Regions from separate parts of the Homo sapiens genome. Here region 1 is linked to region 2. Evidence: promoter capture Hi-C in human tissues and cell types (Jung and others, 2019). All regions are on one chromosome and are shown on one strand. The core of a region is centred on a gene start or on the middle of the fragment in contact, and the rest is flanking DNA. Distances in the headings are between cores, read along the strand shown.

Evidence for each region. Contacts are between HindIII fragments. The study calls those that stand out against the background at their distance.
Region 1: a contact is called between a fragment that was not itself captured here and the fragment with the promoter of ADNP in region 2, in 1 of the 25 tissues and cell types used here (dorsolateral prefrontal cortex).

What each region holds. Positions count from the first base shown.
Region 1 is chr20:51,549,437-51,553,639 of GRCh38, reverse strand. It overlaps a transcript of NFATC2 not described here. Among named protein-coding and RNA genes, the nearest start is that of NFATC2, 8.8 kb to the right of the region's middle. The HindIII fragment of the contact is 5,436 bases long and covers 1-4,203 here.
Region 2 is chr20:50,929,899-50,933,807 of GRCh38, reverse strand. It overlaps ADNP (activity dependent neuroprotector homeobox), which reads left to right and starts at 2,371. Exons shown (of 6, transcript NM_001282531.3): 1 at 2,371-2,982. It overlaps ADNP-AS1 (ADNP antisense RNA 1), which reads right to left and starts at 2,824. Exons shown (of 3, transcript NR_110009.1): 1 at 2,754-2,824; 2 at 2,359-2,433. RefSeq lists silencers at 1,883-2,062, 1,926-2,113, 2,413-2,632, 2,783-2,832, 2,973-3,152 and enhancers at 2,213-2,332, 2,752-3,542. The HindIII fragment of the contact is 17,322 bases long and covers 1-3,909 here.

The DNA.
Region 1 (4,203 bases), core at 731-3,230, 620 kb before region 2:
CAGTGGCATGATCTCGGCTCACTGCAAGCTCCTGCCTTCCAGGTTCATGCCATTCTCCTGCCTCAGCCTCCCGAGTAGCTGGAACTACAGGCACCTGCCACCATGCCCGGCTAATTTTTTGTATTTTTAGTAGAGACGGGGTTTCACCGTGTTAGCCAGGATGGTCTCGATCTCCTGACCTCGTGATCCGCCCACCTCGGCCTCCCAAAGTGCTGGGATTACAGGCGTGAGCCACCGCGCCCAGCACGCCTGCCCTCCTTCTAAACGTTTTTACCCAAGACAGAGGGGAACGTGCTAGAAAGCAAGGAACAAAGAGGAGAAACAAAACCAGGGCAAAGTAGTTGTGCGGGGACCAGGTGGAAGGAATCAAGACTCTGCAGCCCAGGCGCTCAAGCTCACAGGCTCCCGGCAGGTGGAACAAATGAATGAGGAAGACAGGTGGGGGCTGGGGCAAACGGAGGAGGGCATCCCCAGGGAACAGCCTCTACTCACCTCCAGCCGATTGGTCCATACGGGAATGTAGGCCTGGAGTGGCGGGATCTGCCTGCCTTTTTTTTTTAAGAAGTTGGAATTTTGGACTTTTATGTGAAATCTCCCAATTTAAAAATGTTAGTTCGACATGGACACAGGGAGGAGAACAAGAAGCACTGGGGCCTTGCCAGGAAGGTGCGGGAGGGAGAGCATCAGGATAAATAGCTAATGCATGTGGGGCTTAGTACCTAGGTGATGGGTTGATGGGTGCAGCAAACCACCATGACACATGTTTACTGATGTAACAAACCTGCACGTCCTGCACATGTATCCCAGAACTTAATATATAATTAAAAAAAATAAAAATATTAGTTCAGATTAAAAATAAATTACTGGGCAGGCCAAACATAATATGCCTGCAGGATGGACTTGGTGGAGCTCCTGCAGACCTGTGACTTCTACTGCTGTCAAATGGGGCATCTTCCTACAGTCCACCCGTTGATTTGGGTGTTGGCTTTTAGTAGAACCCTGCTGTCTTACGAGGTACTGATGGCCATCAGTGCCTGCCCAGTGGGAGGGTGGCATATTCAACTAACGGCCTTTTGCTGCAATCCCCTCTTGGAAAATAGTTTTCTCACAACAGAGAAGTCCTCTTCGGGCTTTAAAAGACTCTGTAGGAGATGATAGATTGGAGTGCAAGTCAGGTTTGAAACTGTCTTGTTTTCTCAATCTATAAGGAGCTCATCCCTAAAAATGGCTTTGCAAGAGCATGAGGAAGCCAATGAGGCATTTGGGGGAGCAAAATGCAAGAAATTCAGTAATCAGGATGAACTATATGTATATATATATACACACACAGACACACATACATATATGAAATGTATATATATTTGAGACAGGTACTTGCTCTGTCACCTGGGCTGGAGTGCAGTGGCACGAACACGGCTCACTGCAGCGTCAGCCTCCTGGGCTCAAGCCATCCTCCTGTTTCAGCTTCATAAAGATGGGGTGTCACTATGTTGCCCAGGCTGGTCTTGAACTCCTGGGCTCAAGCGATCCTCCCACCTTGGCCTCCCAAAATGTTGGGATTACAGGCGTAAGCCCAGGATGAACCATATTTTAATACACATTTTTTTTTTTTTGAGATGGAGCCTCGCTCTGTCGCCCAGGCTGGAGTGCAGTGGCGTGATCTCAGCTCACTGCAAGCTCCACCTCCCAGGTTCATGCCATTCTCCTCCCTCAGCCTCCCGAGTAGCTGGGACTACAGGCACCCGCCACCACACCCGGCTAACTTTTTGTATTTTTAGTAGAGATTGGGTTTCACCATGTTAGCCAGGATGGTCTTGATCTCCTGACCTCATGATCCGCCCACCTTGGCCTCCCAATGTGCTGGGATTACAGGCATGAGCCACTGTGTGCGACCTAATATAATATTTTTAAAACAAAATTTTTGTTTTAAAATTTTGGCTTATCATGCCAAAACTCCATGATAAGCTTTTTTTAAAAAGGCCAGATGCGGTAGCTTGAGCCCAGGAGTTCGAGACCAACCTAGGCAACATAGTGAGACCTTGTCTCTCCAGAAAAAAAAAAAAAAAAAAAATAGCAGGGCATGGTGGCAGGAGCCTGTAGCCCCAGCTACTAGGAGGCTGAGGTGAGCGGATCATCTGAGCTGGGGAGGTTGAAGCTGCAGTGAGCCATGCTCTCGCCACTGCACTCCATCCTGGGTGACTGAGTGGGACCCTGTCTCAAAAAAAATAAATAAATAAAAATGTTAAATAAAGACAAGATCAACATTACTCATTTTCCCTGTGGCCTTAGGGTGCAGTGTGGCTCACATGGACTGTTACTGACCCTGTCTTTATTAAAATTATAATAGCTTGTTCAGCGAGGATTTTTTTTTGCATTCATTTTGATGTTTTAAAACATGGTGTGAAGATATAATTTATCTAATTACTGAGTTTTTGGTGCCCTCTTTCATTTTACCTCTCTTGCCTCACCTTAGTGCCAGCCTTGCTGGAGTCAAATGCATCTGTGTATAAGTTATATATTAACACCTAGAGTGATCATGAGTCCCAGGGAATGCTTCCGTTGAAGGGAGATGGTTTTTGGAGTCTGGTAAAGAATGTTCCCACTTTTTGAATCCAACTTAAAACGTTTCAATGCCTGCCTTTTATAAGCAGTGTTTTATTATAATGGGAGGTTGTTAGGACATGGAGTTCATGATGAAAATGTGTGACTTATGTGTTATACAGATGGTCTCTGACTTATGATGTTTGACTTAGGCTTTCTTTACGATGGTGTGAAAGCGATATGAGTTCAGTAGAAACTGTACTTTGGGTACCCATAAACCATTCTGTTTTTCTCTTTTGGTATAGTATTCAATAAATTACAGAAGATATTCAACACCTCATTATAAAGTAGTCTTTGTGTTGGGTTATTTTGCCTAAAATCAATTGCGTAGGTGACTGTAAATGTTCTGAGCATGTTTAAGGTAGGCTAGACTAAGCTATGGTGTTCAGTGGGTTAAGCATATTAAATGCATTTTCTTTGTATTTATTATTATTATTATTATTATTTGAGATGGAGTTTCGCTCTTGTCACCCAGGCTGGAGTACAATGGCGCAATCTCGGCTCACTGCAACCTCCACCTCCCAGGTTCAAGCGATTCTCCTGCCTCAGCCTCCCGAGTAGCTGGAATTACAGGCGCCCACCACCATGCCTGGCTATTTTTTGTATTTTTAGTAGAGACGGGGTTTCACCACATTGGCCAGGCTGGTCTCGAACTCCTGACCTTAGGTGATCCACCCACCTTGGCTTCCCAAAGTCCTGGGATTACAGGCTTGCATGAGCCACCGTGCTTGGCCTATTATTATTATTTTTTAGACATGGGGTCTTACTCTTTTGGAATGCAGTGGTGCGATCATGGCTCACTGCAGCCTCAAGCTCCTGGGCTCAAATGGGAGCCCGGCTAATGTATTTTTATTTTTCATAGAGACAGGATCTTACTATGTTGCCTAGGCTGGTCTCAAACTCCTGGCCTCAGGCCATCCTCCTGCCTCAGCCTCCCAAAGTGCTGGGATTATAGACGTGAGCCACCATGCCCTGCCTAAATGCATTTTCAACCCAACAATATGTTCAGTGTATCATGGGTATATTGGGATATCACCCACCATAAGTTGAGGAGCACTTGTACACTATCAGAGCCGGCTACATAATTTTCAGGGCATTGTGCGAAATGAAAATGCATCGCCTCTTGTTCAAAAAGTATTCAGAATTTAAAAAATGTCAACAGCAGAGCATTCAACCAAGTGCAGGCTCCTTCTAAGCACAGGTTATTCCAGGTGCGGAATGCCGTGTGACTCTGCATGTCACATCCCATGAAGCGAGCCCCGGCTGCTACTCAGATTAGCTTGGTTTTCCTTGTTAAACAATCCTTGAATTTTAGAGCTGAAATGGTAACTCAGGTATTATCTAATTCATCTCTTCCCATTTTACAGACAGAGAAACTGAGGCACTGAAGGTGTCTTGCTTAAAGGTCACAGAGTGAGAGGAAGAACTCAGTTTGGATCCTGGGCCTCCCAGCTCTGGGTTGTTCTTTAATGTATCACAAGATCACTCCAGGCTTGGTCAGACATTTATGTCTTCATGCCATTGACCTTCAGCAGGAAAGTCAGCCTGGAAGGGGTGGAAGGGGTTCATATGTACCAGTCTTGTTGTAAAGAACTCAAATTA
Region 2 (3,909 bases), core at 1,122-3,621:
GAGGCTGAGGTGGGAGGTTCACTTGAGTCTGGGAGGTCAAGGCTGCAGTGAGCTGTGATCATGCCTGGACAACAGAGTGAGACCCTGTCTTTTTTAAAAGAAAAAAAAATGAAAATCTGATTTTTCATTTGCATTTCTCTCTGACAGATTCTACCAGAAATGAATCCCAGACTATAAAACCTGTGGTGTCATTTCGAACATTAAAACCACCCCCTCCCACGCTTCTATAGTTGAACCCATAGTACACATTCCAATAAGGGCCACTCTTGTTCTGTTTCCCTTATGTCCAGAACTGTCCAGCTGGCCAGTGAGGGAACTGCTTTCCTTAGGGAAGAAACTTCTCTCATTCATAACAAGAAGAAAATTCATCAGTGCTTGATGTGAAATTAGTTTTAAGCTAAGATAATAGAAATGTAATATTCTCAGTTTTTTTGGAGTGGTTAGAATTTATTTTTTCTTAACCTAAACTCAAAGTTGAGTTCTCAGTGTCAAGTATGTGGAGCAGAAATTAAGTAACAACCTTAGAGAACCTAATATAGATAGTACTGCCTTCTCAGATACTCACTAGAGTAGATAATGTTTGCCTTTTAAATCTTTTTAGTTATTCACACAATCATTATCACAACACTGTCACTCTTGGAATTTACCATAGAGTATTTGAGCAGTGAAGACTCATAGCATTTGGAAGTCATTTAGAAAAGAATCTGGAATATTTAGATGCATTTTTGTAGTAAATCTGGTGCTTAAACACTGTAAAATTAAATATTTACATCTGAATCCAGCATCCCATTTTGCTTTGTAAATGAGGCCAAAGATGAAATCCAGATGTTTTCCCTTGTATTTGTATTATCACTATATGGAATCTAAGTATATCTAAGAAAAACTAAACTTAAACTTACTTTGCTTATTTCATATTAGTTTTTATCTGTCTTCTGCAGTGTGTAATTAGATTCTTTAGTTTTCTGAATCAAATGCTTTGCCCCAACCCCTTTTTCCACGACTTTTTTCAGCTGTTTTCCCTTGAAATACTGACTTGGCTTTTAAAGATACATTTTATCACAATTGCAGAAATGTGTTGTATAAAAGTTTGTTAAACAGGGCTAACTGAAGTCTTAGATGTTGAACAGCTATGTGTAACCACAATTTATACTACTTGCAGCGAACTCAGATTATTTTCGGATGTTAAGTATGGCTTGAAACTATGTTAACTTGAAATGTAAAGAAACAGCAAAAGACAGGTGTATTTACCTAAAGATCACATATTAAGGAAACAGGCTTGGTTAATTCCTCACTATTGACATCTATTACTTGTCAATACATTTAACCAACCAATGATACTTTAAATCATAATGTTACTTTGAACAACCTACTTTAAAAGGTTGGTTCAAAAATGTTGAGGAGATAATGTATTGGTTGGGATTGACCTAAATTTACAAAGCAACCATGTGCTGTCTTATGCTACCCAGATTGTGGGAGCACCAAAAGCTATGTCCCTAGGACTACAAAGTGTGTTGTTTAAGGATCTTGCAGAGAGCCAATGCCCCTATTGGCAACATCACTTCTCATCCTTAAGTTTCACCAGTTGGGTGGCCTCAAGGCACTAGGATTCCCATTTTTTTTTTTATTCAGGTCAGAGAAGAGTCCATCACTGTGACTGGGAAGAATGTCAAGTCACAGGGTAACGGCGGACCTTAATAAAATCTCGGCCCCTCTGCACCGAATACCCCACCAGGAAGGGCTAAGGCATCCATGGGGTTGTGTCTCATCTCAAGTCGCTGTGTGAAGCACGAGGCCCTCACACCTCATTTAAGGCAGGAGGCGTCAGGGGCGACCGGCCAGGTGTCCCGGCGCCTTCCCGCCGCTTCTCAGCCGTGGAAGCGCGGGCATCTGAGCACGTGGAGCCGCCCCAGGCCGCCCCGCACACCCCTCCCGCCAGATGTAGTCCAGGCCCAGCTGGGCCCGCGCAGGGATCCCCAGCACGGCCACCTGACTGAGTGCTGGGCGTGCTGCGGCCCGCTGCTTCTGCCTCCGCCGCCGGCGCTGCGGCCAGAGGAAGGCGCCCGCCGAGCACACGGGCCCCGGGAGCGCACTGCGGCCATTATCCGCGGCGCCTCCTAGTGGGTCAATGGCAAATCCGCCTGGTTCTCGCGAGAGCTCCCCCCTCAGTGGGGATTATATAATTTCCCTCAAGCGGGGGTGGGGGTGCTGAGAGCACCCTCCCTCAGGAAAAGTTAGGTGCAAGCAGGGGTGGGAGTAAGAGGAACCCCCCCTGGGGAAAAGGGGGTTAGGGGTGCTGTCCCCACTGCCCCCCCCTATTTAGCTGGACAATGAGTCCTCTTATGCTAATGAGGCACTTACGTCACTTCCGCTCTTTCTCGGCCGCCATTTTGGCTAGGGCAGGTTCGGGGACTCGGTCCGAGGCGCTTGTATTGTCTGCTGAGGGGAGACGCGGGATCAGCCCCCTCCCCCGCCCGTTGCCGCCGCCGCCTCCGCCGGCCCGGTCTCCCCTCCGCCGCCCGCCGGGATCCATGAGCTGAACTCCCGCCCCCCCCCCCCCGGCCGCCGCCATCTTGTGCCCCCTCCCCCTCCCGCAGGCAGCGCTAAGGGGGATTTTGGCGTCTTCTCAGACACAGCTCCCTCTCTCGGTCCCCGCTGCTGAGGAGCGAGAGGAGCGCGGCCGCCGCCGCCCGCGCCGGTGAAGCCGCCTCTCCCACACCCTCCGTCTCCTCCCTCCGCCCCTCCTTTGTCTGCACCGCTCGACGACGCCGCCGCCGCCCGCCGCTCTGCTGCGCCCGCCGCGCCCCCCGGCAGCACCCGCGGCCGCGGCGCGAGCCGGAGTCCGCCGAGCCGGAGCGCGACGAGGCCCCGGGCGCGCCCTCCCCGCTGCCGCCACCGCCGTGCCGCCGCCATCCGCCCGCCGCCGCCGCCGCTGTCCGGCCCCCGAGCACGCCGGCCCCGCGCGCGCCTCGAGGCCGAGTCAAGGTAAGCCCGGCGCCGCCGCGCGCGGACCCGCGGCCCTGCCCTGCCTGGCTTCCCGACCCCGGCCCGCGCGGCCGCCAGTGCAGCCTGGCCCCGGGCGCGGGCGCATTGTTGTTCGCATCGCCGCCCTCCAGCCGCACACACGCTCCTTTGCACACCCCGGCGCCGACGGGTCCCCCGTCCCGGCACGGACCGCTACCCGACTCTGCTCCGGAGGTCCAGGCGCCTCCTCCTGCAGCCCGACCCCCTTCTCCGCCCTGTGAGCCCACCGAGGCCAGCACTCTGCCTGGCCGCCCGGAGCTTTTGCAGCTAAGGGCATCTCCCCCAGCCAGAACCGAGCTTCTCCCATCCTGGAACTAATCCCGTCCGCCCCCCACCCCCAAAAGGAGCCCCCCCACGCACACCCCCATGCCTTGAACCAGCCTTCTGCCAGGTCTGCCCACCCTTACCTGGGGGAGGGGGGACGGGGTTGGGGGGGGCGGGGAGCATGCATGGCATGGAGTGAGTCTTTGCCTCCCCTGTGCAATCCTTCTTCCCCAACCTGCCAGCTTTCCTCTTATCCTGACCACAGTTCACCACCATCCCTTTTCCCCAATCTCAGCTGCCTGGTCAGCACCTCTTTCGAACATTCTGAGCCCCAACTTTGCAGTAAGGTGGTAGAAAATGGAAATCCAGAGAGCTGCAAAAAGATTTTTTTTTAATGTAATGAATGGGGAGTAGTTTTGTGAACACACTCGTATTCACCTCTTCTTTCCTCTGGGAGGCCTGCCTGCCTTCCCCTCCCCCCCAACCTTGATCCCTGTCTGCTGGAAAAGGCGCGATTGCTTCTCTTCCTCTTCTGCCCAAGACCAAGACTCTAGGTCTGATATCCTTTTTAGCCACACACACACACCCCCCACACACGAAGTCTTCTTAATCTTCTTGAATTTA